Regions from separate parts of the Homo sapiens genome. Here all the other regions are linked to region 1. Evidence: promoter capture Hi-C in 16 types of primary human blood cells and fetal thymus (Javierre and others, 2016). All regions are on one chromosome and are shown on one strand. Each heading gives the region's core, a stretch centred on a gene start or on the middle of the fragment in contact. The rest is flanking DNA. Distances are from core to core; before and after follow the strand shown.

Region 1 (2,700 bases), core at 111-2,610:
AATCACATTTAAGCCCCCTGGACTCCACTGTTATTCTTTTAAAACATATTTAAAATAGTTTCAGACACAAAATAGGAACATACCAAGTCTTTTTTATATATTGTGGTATATATACAGTAATATCCTCCAATGCATATTTTAAACACACTAGAAGTAGTGTGATTTTTCACATACTGTTCTGTTTAGTCTCTGAAATGAAAGATATGAAGCATAAAGAGTAATCCTACTGCCATGAAGTCATTTGACCTCACTTGTTTTCTCTTACTCATTGTGATTGCTGCGACTTATGAAGTTGATCCCAGCTTGGACATTGGCATGTATGATTTTGGAAAATGGTTCTTTAAAGGACTATACGAATGTGGTCATTTAAAGCTGTTTCAGAAAATGTATTGCTCCTGCTGTGATATTAGAAATGGCAATTTTTAAACATGTCAAAGTTTGATTATAAAATGGATAGTTTAAAAAGCTGCCTTGGTCTACTGCTTGATGCATTTTAAATTTGAAATGGATCTTTGAACACTTGTATGGCTGCTGGACTAGCGGTTGTTAAGTTTGTTGGTTTGCCACTTAGAGTCATCTATCACTTTAGTAAGAAGTTAACGCCTATCAGTTGGAGAAAAAGCAAATATTTTGCATTGACAGTCTCCCCTACCCTCTATTATTGTCATTTTCTTAAGCCATCACTGCTCTGGCTTCTAGAATACACATTTTTGAATGAAGGTTTTTGCAGTGAATGGTCTCTTGTAGATCTCAAAGTCCACTAGAAAGAGTACTGGGTTTTTGTTTGTTTTGAACGTTGCAAACAGTAATGCTTCTTTACCACTCACCCTCCCCCCACCCTCAACCTCCACAACGTTCCCGTTTGCTTATAGTTGTCAACGACCATGATCTCTGGACCCACACTACAGTAACAAGTTTGTCAGTCATTTTCAGATAAGGTGCAAATCAAGGGATGGCTTTGTCCCCACTTCGGCGCAGGTGGGACAGACTTGGGGAAGACGCAGCTGAAGAGACAAATTCTCAGGGTGCGTCAGTCTCATCACTGACCGTTGCTTTTAAACCCTCCAGGGAAAATATGCCAGTCATTGTTATGATGTAAACAACCGAAGGGGTGGACGGTGAGGATAAGAAGAACCGAGATAATATTTGGCCAGAGCTACGTGTAGCACAGGGAGCCAGGGCGGCAGCTGCACCTGCGAGCAGCGCAGGCGGCAGGCGCGGCCTCCGGGCGTGGTGGTGGGCGTGGCCGGGCGGCGGGGGCGTGGCCGGGCGGCGGGGCGGGCGGTGCCGCCGGTTGGAAGTGGGTGGAGTTGCCCTTGGAGGCGGCACCGGACCTGGGCCCCGAGGCCCGCCGCGCCCTGTCGGGCCTGAGCCGAGTGGCCCCACAGAGCCGGCGCGCTCCCGCCTGCAGGGGGAGAGCAGACGGGGCGCGGGGACCGGCCAGGCCGCGGCGGGTGCTGTTTCTGTTTCACTTTCCTTCACTCTGAGGCCGGCGCGCTGGCGGGCGAGGAGCGGCGGCGGTGGCGGCCGCTGGGTAGGTACCGGGCGGGCTGGGGAGCTGCAGGGACGCCAGACTCCTCACCCAAGTTTGCGCCTCAGGCGAGAGCGACACCTCCAGACACCTGCCCTGGCCGGCCCAGCCTGGAGCCGGGAGGGCCCTTCGGGTGCAGGGGGCTACCGACCCGGGCGGGGGCTTCGGAGCTGTGCCTACCTCGGCGGGGAGAGCGGCCGGCTGCGGACGCCGGCCCCGGGAAAGGCTGCTCGCTCTCCCCGGCCTGAGCAGCGCGCCCGCGGGGCCTGGGCCCGCGCACCTGCCGGGCGGGCGCGGCTGTGCTGGGACCCCACAGGGCTGTACCGCTGGGTCCTGCCGGAGAACGCAGAAAAGTTCCCCCTTGCCCCCGCCCCGTCATTGCAAGTTCTTGCTTCCCTTAACTGTCTTGGTCACAGGGCTCTGTGCCTTAGGATCTTAGTACCACCCCAGGTCGGGACCGTGCATTTCCTCTTCCAGAGGACTTTCTCTTACTTTGGAGTTTCATGGCAAACCTGTGGGAAAGGCAAGGCAGTTAATCCCAACTTATAGAGGAGGAAGCCGAGACCCAGGCTCAGATATGAAACGGTTTGCTGAAGGTCATACAGGGGTAAGGGCCAGAACCCTGATTCCCTGTCTTTTAATTATGCTTGCTTTCTGTTACACGCACGAATACGGTTTCCCAAGAGGATAGGATGATTACACGTAGAGCCTATTCCCTGCACATTCGCAGTGGGTATGTGTTGATGGAATGCCTTTTACCTTTCCGGTTGCTTTATATTTACCAATGAGTTAACAGCTAAGATGGGGGAAAGTTCCTGTTTATAGAATGCACTTAGGAAAATCAACACCTTTCATGTTGTGTTTTCTGAGAGGATACATATTTTACAGTTAAAAAAAAAAAAAAACCTGAGACAGGAAAGTAGCATTATCCAGGTTATATATCTACTAAATATGACCAGTTTCTATTGAAGAGTTTTTGGTCTAACAAAGAAGGTAAAGAATGAACGTAACTATAAATCAAAATAAAAGGCAAATGTAATAGGAAAGAAGTAAGCATTAAAAACTAGGGAAAGATTGCACTGAGAATAGCATTGGAGAAGGGCTTGAAGGATAGGTGGCATGCAGACAGAGGAGAGAAAGGGCGTGTTGGATAGAGTGCTTAGAACCTG
Region 2 (2,700 bases), core at 8-2,507, 310 kb before region 1:
GAAAGTACCAACTATTTTATTATTTATTACTTCATTATATTAATTTAAATATTGAAGTGTCAGCTATCATTTAGGAAAAAACTAAGTCAAATCTCTATCTCACACCCAATACACACCCATAGTAAATCCAGGTAGATTAAAGATTTAAATTTTTTAACAAACTTGTAAAATACTAGAGGAAAATGTAAGTTAATTAAAAAAATAATAATCTTGGATTGCAATAGACCTGCCGAGCATGGTCATCAAAGCCAGAAAACAAAGTTTGATTGATTTGTCTCTACATAACAACAAGTAGGAAAGTACATTTACAATACATATTCCAGGAAGGTTTCATATGCTTAGCTTTTAAGAATTTTTTTTTTTTAAATACCCAACATGACATGCTGTTAGCATCCATAGAGATCCCCATTCCCAGGGTGGTGTACCTATATTGCCAGTGCTTCAGATGTTGGGTACTAATGACTTATCTTCACCCTTTTCCAGAGGATTGTCCTGGGCTGATGAGAGTCACTTTACCTGAAGATACCTGGGAAGTTTTGTCTCCTCTGAGGTTGGCCCATGGCCAGTGACTGATGCAGGACATTACAGCCTGGCCCACTGGCCTCGGTGGTACAATTTATGCTCCTGAGCACCCCATGGGATTACGCTGTGTGTGGATTTCTCCTGAAACCACATATTTGCCTCTTCTGCCCTGTTCTGTTTTTTCTCATTCCCTTATAGAGGACTCTCAGTAAGTCACTTACACAAGAATCCTAATTTGAAATGCTGCTTCCAGGAGACCTGACTTAGAAAATTGGACAAATAAAGTTGATTTTTTTAAATGTCCAGTAACATGAAGATGCTGAACTTTCCTAGTCATTTAGGGGGAAATCACCACAAATATATCTGGCTGATCAGGTTGAAAGTTAAAAGAAAAAAAGATTTATAAAGTGGGTATTTTCAAGATGGTGTGGAGGGAGATACAATTTGATGCAAGTCTTATACTTTTGATGTCAATTTATTCTTCAGAAATAACTGGTTAATTATAAAGGGTGGATGGATAAGGATATTCACTGCAACAATGTCTTAAATGTGAAAATGGAAACAACCTAAATACCCAATAATAACAGGATTAAATAATTCATTGTACATTAAAAGAATACTGTCTATAAAGATGTCTAGAATAAGTTGTTCAGTTGAAGTTGTAAAGCTAAATACACAATACCCATAATGTGCACAGAAATAATCAGAATGTCATGAAACCAGGATTATTGGTGATGTGTTGCTTCCTTTGTTACTCATTTCTGTATTGGCATAATGAGTATTGGGTGTTCAAGAGGAGGGGGAAGGAAGTATGACAGATGTTATGGGGAAAAAGCAAAGTACAACAGGAAGACACCTTGGGGGAACTAATAGAATCTAAGGACTCAAGGATGGCTTCCTGGAGGAAATACAGCTAGAACAAAGGGGAGGAATGAGAAGTGATGTGATGGCGTGGAGTGGGCTGTAGTGGGAAGAAGAGTCTTCCAGGGAGCTGGCACAGTATGTGAAAACAGTAAAGCAAGTGCCTGGATTTTTTAAGGAACTGAAAATTTAGTTGAGTTGAAATTTAGAGTTTGGCTAGGAAGGTTATGAGAGATAAGAATAAAGAGTTAACAGCAGCCAGATTTTAAGGATTTTATAAGACATTTTTAGGAGTTTTTATTTCATCCTGAGAGAAATGTGAAGCCATCGAAGGGTTGAAAGAGGAGAGTGAGTTGATCAGCATTGCATTTTAGAAAAATCCCTCTATCTGCAACTTGAAAAACATTCTGGAGGTAAGCAAGCCTGGAGGCCAGGAGCCTAGGAGGGCTATTTGATCCAGATGAGAAGTAATGGTGACCTGAACTAGGGCAGAGGCACCTAGGATTGGAAAACATGGACAGATCACAGCACTACTTATGTAGTATACTTGGTAAGACCTGGTTGTTTAAAAGAGAAGGATGAGGGAAAGAAGGTCAAAAACAACTTCTAGGACTCTCCATTGGCCAGTGTGGTGTGCCCTTCACTGAAGAGCAAACACAAAATGAAAGATTGTGGGCAAAGAGTTGAGTCAGTGAGAAGGCAAGGAGAGAACCTTATAAAAAAATTGACTATGTGATTAAAAACTTAAAAATTTCCCCCAACGTGTTTATCTTTTCCATTAGCAGAAATAACTAAGAGTTGTCTTAATTCTAATGGGATTTATTCCATATTGTCTCTCATGCCCTCTACCTAGTTATTAGTGCAAATATTTATATGTGGCAACATAAAACTTTTTAACTCTTTATTCTCTTCTCTCGTGTACCCTCCCAGCTCTTTAGGGGAGGTGGATTTGAGGCAGATACCATAAAGAAAAGTTGGTCACATGGTGGTAACACGTTGAAGTTATGCCACATGAGACATCAGCACTGGCAAGAGAAATGTCTGTGTTGTAGATGTTTCACTTGGAAGAAATTGAAGGACCCTGAGCCTTAAAAGTCTGACAAACTTAAGCCAGGACCCCTGTGGGGAAGGTAGAGGGGCCAACAAACAAGATTGGGAGTCAGAGAGATAACAATGAAATCCCCAATGCCTGTGGGAGGTGGACTCCCTGGATTAGTACTAGACAGAAAAGGTACAAAAATATTTCAAACCATTCTCACAACTCTATATGTGTCTATGACCAGATAACTGGAAGACCTTCTGGTTATGGACTATGCG
Region 3 (2,700 bases), core at 124-2,623, 290 kb before region 1:
TAAATAAGGTATCTCAGTGCAAATTCTGCCACACATATGAACTCACACCAGCCAACAGGCACAAAGGGCCACATGCACTATTCAGTAAACTCATGAAGCCCAGCCCTTTGTCCATTTAGGCCCTTGGACAGTGTCCAGCACAAAAGATTCGCTTGACTAGGCATGGTGGCTCATGCCTGTAACCTCAGCACTTTGCGAGGCCAAGGCAGGAGGATCACTTGACCCTAGGAGTTCGAGACCAGCCTAGACAACATAGCGAGATCCTGGCTCTATGTTTTTTTATTTAAAAAAAAATAAAAGAAAAAGTTTCACTTGAAGCAAATGAAACCACAACCACATTCTGGCAGCATATTTCAGCTAATTTTCTAGTCCACTCAAGGTGATTACAGACTCCTCCACATATGGCCTAACACAAGATAGGATGGAGTCCTAGCACTCACTATAAGCCTAGGACTCCAACTGCATAGAAAAGTGCCTGACACATAGTGGGGCTAAATAAATATTTACCTGAGACCCAGCAGGGCTCATATTCTTTTCTAACCAAACCACATATTTCAAATTCTCCTTTCAATGAGAAATAATTGGTAACATTTCTCATGCTAATTAACCATTAATCTGTCAATACTATCAAAGGTAAAGATAGGTAAAGTACTTGGGATTACCTCCACTGGAGTGGGGGCAGCTCATTAGTGTCTTTCAAATGCTAACTAACCCCAACAGTTGTAATCGCAGAGTCAGGGCTTCTCAGGTGTGAACTAACATTTCTTCAAGCAGTGATTCTCTAAGCTGGGTGCATCTTAGAATCCTCTGTGAAGCTTCTAAAAAAATGCTGATGCCCAGGCTTCAGCTCAGGCACATGAAATCCAAATCTCTGCTCAAAGATCCAAGGAATTGGTATTTTTTAAAGTTTTCCAGTTGATTCTAATTTCCTCCCAGCATTGAGAATACTGCTCGAGGGTGTAGAATTAAATGAATATGTATCTAAATACACGTGTATTTTCTCCAAGTTGTAGTGGACAGTCAAGCTATTGTTATTCTGGTCTCAGAATTTTGATTGTTGAAGACTCTTGCCTATGCTAAGACCATGGGAAACACACACATACAATTTACTCATTTATTTTTTATTTTATTTTATTTTATTTTATTTTATTTTATTTTATTTTATTGTTTTGAGACAGAGGCTTGCTCTGTTGTCCAGGCTGGAGTACGGTGGCACGATCTTGGCTCACTGCAACCTCTGTCTCACGGGTTCAAGCAATTCTCTTGCCTCAGCCTCCTGAGCAGCTGGGACTACAGGTGCATGCCACCATGCCCAGCTAATTTTTGTATTTTTGGTAGAGATGTGGTTTTGCCATGTTGGCCAGGCTGGTCTTGAACTCCTGGCCTCAAGTGATCCTCCCGCCTTGACCTCCCAAAGTGCTGGGATCACAGGCATGAGCCACTGTGCCTGGCCTACTCATTTAATATTTATTTAGCTCTACTTTGTGTCAGGCATTTTTCTAGAGCTGAGATATACTTATGCTCTCAAGAGACACACGACTCTGCCCTCACGGCATTCACACAGTTTTACTGAAGTATTTAACAAAAACTACAGACAATATAACATGCTTCTTCTGCCACAAATCAAGAAGAGTGAGGCGAGACAGTAGTTTTGTGGGTCTGGTGGGGATGGGATGAAGAATCAGGAGGCTTACCTCTAAATCCTGGCTTTGCCCTGTGTTCACTGGAGCAAGTCCTCTCACCTCTTACCATCTCAAATCCTGAAGTTATAAAAGGAGAGCTGAGAACAAAATGATTTCTAGGGCCCTAAAGTTTTACTGAGGTCTCAAAGTCACTGAATCAAAAGGTAGAAATAAACATTCATAACTGCAGCATCACGTGCGGACAGTGAAGTTGATTCTCCAATGCCTCTAAAAGAGGAAACGGTCCATAAAGCTTTCACTAGCCCAGGATATTTCCACTATCTTTAAGACATTCTCCCACTTGATAAACATAAAAATTTCACACTCTCTGTTACATGGATAGAAATTTCAAGAAGATCAACTTGGGGTCAAGATGAAATAAAAGTAGTGGTAATTTTGATTATGCCTCTTCAAACCTTCTAAGACCGCAGAGATTTTTATAAGGCCTCATCCTCTTTCTTCCCCTTCTGAGAATCCCTGCCCAAGCTCTTGCCTAGGCTGACATCTGTCCCCATAGAAAAGGTAGTGATAAGTGTCCAGGAAGGGATCTCAGTGACTTTCTATTACATTCTTATTTCCCCAAATAATGGGTTCTTGTTTAGGCCCCCTACACTGGTTCCCAGAACATTAGGAAGGCAGAGCCTCTAACAATCAACATTCTGGGATTGTGATAAGGACAACTGGCCTGTCTATTACAACCTCAAGAAGAATGGGTGTGAGTGGGAGAATCAGTTAAAATGTGAATGCATAATGGTTCCCCTCCCACCCCTCAACTTTCTCAAAAGCCAAATTTACTTCATGAGATTAAATTTCACTCAATGGACGGTGGGATGATGGAGAGTTTGCGTTGAGATGATTTTTTAAAAGGAAGTTTGATTGTCATAGTAACGCTCTGAAAAGATTTTGATGCAACTTTGGAATTACTTCACACCCAATTACATAGAACATCTACTTGGAATGAGAGATAAGTGCTTCTGTGACTGCAAACATAGATAGAAAATCCATTAACCTTTTTAGC
Region 4 (2,700 bases), core at 11-2,510, 280 kb before region 1:
GTGTTGGCCATGATGGTCTCGATTTCTTGACCTTGTGATCTGCCTGCCTTGGCCTCCCAAAGTGCTGGGACTACAGGTGTGAGCCACCGCGACTGGCCGTAAATCTTTTAAACACCGTTTTTTTTTTCAGCTATTAAATAAAGTTAGATTGGTGTTACCGAAAGCCTCCTCTTCCCCCCACCCCCTTTTTTTTTAATTCAACTTTTATTTTAAATTCCAGGTTACATGTGCAGGATAAATCGGTTTGTTACATAGCTAAATGTGTGCCTTGGTGGTTTGCTGCACTGATCACCCCATCACTTAGACATTAAGCCCAACATCCATTAGCTATTCTTCCTGATGCTCTCTCTCCCACCACCTCTGACAGGCCCCAGTGTGTGGTGTTCCCCTCCTTGTGTGCATGTGTTCTCATCGTTCAGCTCCCACTTATAAGTGAGAACATGTGGTGTTTGGTTTTCTTTTCCTGTGTTAGTTTGCTGAGAATAATGGCCTCCAGCTTTATCCATGTCCGTGCAAAGGACATGATCTCATTCCTTTTTATGGCTGCTTAGTATTCCATGATTTATGAGTACCACATTTTCTTTATCCAGTCTATTATTGATGGGCATTTGGGCTGATTCTGTGTCTTTGCTCTTATGAATAGTACTGCAATGAACATATGTGTGCATGTATCTTTATAATAGAATGGTTTATATTCCTTTGAGTATATACCCAGTAATGGGATGGCTGAGTCAAATGGTATTTCTGCTTATAGATCTTTAAGGAATCGCCACACTGTCTTCCACAATGGTTGAACTAATTTACATTCCCACCAAACAGTGTAAAAGCGTTCCTTTTCCTCTGCAGCCTCATCAGCATCTGTTGTTTCTTGACCTTTTAATAATAGCCATTCTGATTGGCATGAGATGGTATCTCATTGTGGTTTTGATTTGCATTTCTCTAATGATCAGTGATGTTGAGCTTTCTTTCCTATTTTTTGGCTGCATGCATGTCTTCTTTTGATATGTGTCTGTTCATGTCCTTTGCCCACTTTTTAATGGAGTTTTTTCTGGTAAATTTGCTTAAGCTCTTTGTAGACTCTGGATATTAGACTTTTGTTAGATGGATAGATTACAAAATTTTTCTTCCATTCTGTATGTTGTCTGTTCACTCTGATGATACTTTATTTTGCTGTGCAGAAGTTCTTTAGTTTAATTAGATCCCATTTGTCAATTTTTGCTTGCGTTGCAATTGCTTCTGACATTTTCATCATGAAATCTTTGCCCATGCCTATGTCCTGAATGGTATTGCCTAGATTTTCTTCTAGGGTTTTTACAGTTTTGGATATTACATTTAAGTTCAACAGCCCCTTTTTAATCCCTAAACATTTTGGTCTTTGACTGTCAGCTTCCACTTATGTTTTCATGTTTGTGTAAGAATGTCAATTAAAATCAAGAATATTATGGTCTGAATTTCTATTTTGGAAAAGTATGAAATGTGAAGATTCTTAATATTTGTAACTAACACGTGTAAAATCTCTCAAATTGACTTTTGGAATAGTTTTATGTGTTAACAGATTTGAATAGTGGCATCTGGGCGATAAACTTCAAATTGTCAATGTGGTAAAACCTTTAGTTGATTTCCAGTTAGAGTTTCAGCTCTTGAAAAATTGCGTTTTTGCTTATGTTTACAATATAATTTTCTAAGGTCACCGTAACAAAGTACCACAAACAGGGTATTTACACAATAGAAATTTGTTTTCTTACAGCCGGGAGGCTAGAAGTCTAAGATCAAGACATTAGCAGGATTGGTTCTTTTTGAGGGCAGTAAGGAAGAATCGTTCTATGCCTTTCTCCTAGTTCCTGGTAGTTTCCTAGCTGTTATGGATCTCTACAAAATTCATTTTTTGAAGTTCTAACCCTCAGAACCTCAGAAGAAGACTTCATTTGGAAAGAAGATCTTTACAGAATTAATCAAGTTAAAATGAGGTCATTACGGTGAACTCTAATCCAGTATGAATTGTGTCCTTATAAGAAAAATAAATCTGGATACAGACTCATACAGAGGAATGATGATGTAAAGACACAAGAAGAAAACAAGCCATCCACAAAACAAATAGAGAGACCTGAAACAGATCTTTCTCCTACAGCCCTCAGAAGGAACAAGCCCCACTGACACCTTGATCTCAGACATCTAGCTTCCAGAGCTGTGAGAAAGTAAATTTCTGTTATTTAAGTACCCAGGCTGTGGCATAGTCAGCCCTCCATATCTGGGGGCTTAACCAACCACAGATCAAAAATATTCAGACAAAAAGTGATGGTTGTGTCTGTACTGAACATGTATAGACTTTTTTTGGTCATTATTCCCTAAACGATATAGTGTAACTACTATTTACATGGCATTTACATTGTACTAGGTATGATAAATAATCTAGAGATGATTTAAAGTATACAGGAGGATATATGTAAATTATATGCAAACACTGAACCATTTCTATAACAGACTTGTGCATCCACGAATTTTGGTATCTGAGGAAGGTCCTAGAACAAATCCCCTCAGAATACCGAGGGACAGCTATACTTTGTTACAGCAGTCCTAGCAAACTAAGAATCTGGCAATCTTTGGCATTCCTCGGCTTGCAGATGCATCACCCCGAACTCTACCTTTGGGGTCACATGGTGTTCTCCCTGTGTGCATGTCTGTTTCCAAATTTCCCCTTTG
Region 5 (2,700 bases), core at 32-2,531, 340 kb before region 1:
CGTAATATATTTTTAGAGTCTCTGCACTTATAGAGACTTCTCTATAGGAGACTCCACTTATACCTACTACATACCTATAAGTAGAATTGTTGGTGTGTGCATTTAAAATTTTGGTAGCCATTGCTAAAATGCTTTTCAAGACCTTATACTGATTTAAAGACCTTTTGAGTGCCTGTTCATTCATTCTCATGTCAGCAAGGTAGTACCAAACTTTTTTATCTTTGCCAGTATGATCGATAAAAAATGGTGAACAGAGCTGAATTTGTTTCAGCTATCATTCAGAGCTTTTCTTCATCCACTCTTATTAAATTTTCAGTGACTCTTTTATGAGTTGGACAGCTGTGGCAGTTGGGATGGGGCAGATTCTTTATGAGCCAAGTATTTCTGCCAAAACAACATTGCTTCCCAGGCTTACTAAGTTACTATGACTGTCTTAAAGCTAGCCAGCCTCTGATCTCTACTTCCTAAAGCCCTGGGGTTGGAGTAGGAGTGACTGAAGTGGGGATTCTGAAGAAAAAGGGCAAGATACGGTATTCCTGTCATTGCCGAAGGTTGGCACCAATCCTATAGGTCATTTTCTCCACTCTTCCTTACTCTGCCCTTTCCCCTGGTACATGCCACTGATGTTGTTTGTCAGCGTAGCCATCCTGGAAGTTTGAATTTGTCTGTCAAGCCTGTACACACTAGCATTGTCAGTAAGCTTTGTTTTTAATGTAATACATAACAGCCAAATATTTTTATCACTATAAATCAAATAATGGCAAAATCAGAGCCAGGTATGTTTCTTCCAGCAGTGTCTTCTGGCTTGCCCTCTACACTAGTAACCTTTTCCCAGCTTTATTTTTCTTCCCTGATTTTCCATTTATCCTGATTTTCTTATCTGTTTATTTTATCTTGTATGTGGTTTTCATAAACAGTTTCAAATCTCTTTGAGAAGAAAATGCAGAGTATTACTCAACAAGTCATAGCAAAAATTAAAACAACAGAAAGGGAAATTAAAAGTTGAGAAAATGCATTCATTATCATTTGCTTTGTAGTAGCTCTGCTTTAACTATTTATGTAGATTCCTTCTATTAGTATTTGAACAAATGTCATGAGGTGCTGTGTTCATATTTCTTTAGCTACTCAGTAGACTTGATAGGAGCCACAGCCCTGGGACAATTCTTGGCACAGAGTTGCTCAATAAATAGTGTGTGGGATAAATGGACTATGCATACATTCCATTTGGCTTATTTTTTCCTTGGGTTTTAGAATAGTCAGTTTCTTCTTTCTGGGACAGTCTGAAGTAACCTTCCAGAAACTGAGCCTCGCTCTGCAACCCATCCTTATGTAGAAGACCATATGAGTTAGAGAGTCTCCAGGCCCTATCTTTTGAGAAAGTCTGTGGACATATTCCGCTTTTGCTGGATTACAGTTAAACCATTTAAACCAAACCTAAAAGAGTAGCAAAACAGTTGACTTTGTAAAAGGTCAGATGTATTTCAACACAGAACCATCAAAACACCTATGGAGTGAACCATACTTTATATCGAGTTTGACCCTATCTCCCATTCTTACTTGTGCCAATTTTCCTTTTGGCCTTACCTATTTTTTTCTTCTTTACAGATTGCTTGCACACATTTAGATGTGGATTTAGTCTGCATAACTGTAACAGAGAAACTACCATTTTACTTCAAAAGACCTCCTATTAATGTGGTAAGTGTACTTTCCATTCTGTATTTGAATCTTAGAAACTTACATTAGCAAATTGGAAAAGAAGCAGAAGAAATCAGTGTTCTTAGAAGGAAAAACAAAGGCTAGGGAATAGGAGGCAGTTTTAGAAAAGAGAATTTTCGTTTTGAAAGCTGAACAAAGGGAGAAAGAAAGCTTAAAATTAAAAATATCCAGTTAATTATTAAGATGTTTTTAAAAGGCCATAGAACCCAAAATTTATAAAGGATATTTCTTAAGAGGATAGCTAATAATCATGGGTACTTATAACCTGAACATCAATTATTAAGGGAACAGAGCAGTCAAAAAAGAAGAGGAAGGGAAAAAATAAAAAGCAGAGGATCCTTGAGGCACCAGGAAGCTAAAGAGAGTCAAGAGGGAACAGGGCATGGCATCACATAGACGTGGTCTATGCAAAATTAAAATCTGTGTTGAAGCATGCTTATTCACAAAGAGCCCAGAGTTACTTTTATATGAACCTAATAGGATGGCCATGTGTTCAGAAAACTTTTTTGTTTCTCCCTCTGCTATAGAATTTTTCTCATTCCCCTTCTACATAGTTTTCTCTTGTTTTCCCATACCCTTCATCTTCTATCTGTCCATTCCTTCTTCTGTCTTAATTTCCTCCCATTTCCATCATAAGGTAATATTATTTCACACCAGTAACTATTTTAGTAGCAAAAGGTCAGCACAGCTGTTAACTATTTGCTTTGCCAGTCAGATCCTAGGAGGAGTTCAGATGCTATTTTAGAGTAGTGGCTTCCAAAACCCTAGTCTCCTGTTCTCAAAAACTGGTATCCAAGGAGAAAAAAAAGAGTTTAGCAAATACAGTCAAAATTACATATCCAATCCTGTCAGAATCAGAAGATTAATTTTTTTTAAGTTTTTCAAAGGATAATTCCCTTGCTCTTTTGCCTCTGTAGAATCATAACTTTCTCAATTTTAATTCTCTTTGGTGCTAAGGAATTGGCTTGAGAATTAGAGGGAGAC

What was found. The method cuts DNA at HindIII sites, captures the fragments that hold promoters and counts their contacts. A CHiCAGO score of 5 or more calls a contact.
Region 2: a contact is called between a fragment that was not itself captured here and the fragment with the promoter of PCGF5 in region 1, in 1 of 17 cell types (fetal thymus). The highest score is 5.9, in fetal thymus.
Region 3: a fragment that was not itself captured here is called in contact with the fragment with the promoter of PCGF5 in region 1 in 1 of 17 cell types (fetal thymus); the score reaches 5.9 in fetal thymus.
Region 4: a contact is called between a fragment that was not itself captured here and the fragment with the promoter of PCGF5 in region 1, in 1 of 17 cell types (fetal thymus). The highest score is 5.1, in fetal thymus.
Region 5: a contact is called between a fragment that was not itself captured here and the fragment with the promoter of PCGF5 in region 1, in 6 of 17 cell types (fetal thymus, M1 macrophages, M2 macrophages and 3 more). The highest score is 12.0, in fetal thymus.

What each region holds. Positions count from the first base shown.
Region 1 is chr10:91,219,303-91,222,002 of GRCh38, forward strand. PCGF5 (polycomb group ring finger 5) reads left to right here and starts at 1,361. Exons shown (of 10, transcript NM_032373.5): 1 at 1,361-1,534. RefSeq lists an enhancer at 901-970 and silencers at 1,161-1,470, 1,541-2,000, 1,690-1,984. The HindIII fragment of the contact is 12,523 bases long and covers 1-2,700 here.
Region 2 is chr10:90,904,819-90,907,518 of GRCh38, forward strand. It overlaps a transcript of RPP30 not described here. Among named protein-coding and RNA genes, the nearest start is that of ANKRD1, 15 kb to the right of the region's middle. The HindIII fragment of the contact is 5,535 bases long and covers 1-2,700 here.
Region 3 is chr10:90,925,138-90,927,837 of GRCh38, forward strand. No RefSeq gene overlaps it. Among named protein-coding and RNA genes, the nearest start is that of ANKRD1, 5.4 kb to the left of the region's middle. RefSeq lists an enhancer at 153-1,039. The HindIII fragment of the contact is 1,120 bases long and covers 814-1,933 here.
Region 4 is chr10:90,942,761-90,945,460 of GRCh38, forward strand. No RefSeq gene overlaps it. Among named protein-coding and RNA genes, the nearest start is that of XLOC_008559, 3.2 kb to the right of the region's middle. The HindIII fragment of the contact is 4,169 bases long and covers 1-2,700 here.
Region 5 is chr10:90,884,207-90,886,906 of GRCh38, forward strand. RPP30 (ribonuclease P/MRP subunit p30) reads left to right here. Exons shown (of 11, transcript NM_006413.5): 6 at 1,606-1,695. Among named protein-coding and RNA genes, the nearest start is that of RPP30, 14 kb to the left of the region's middle. The HindIII fragment of the contact is 1,166 bases long and covers 699-1,864 here.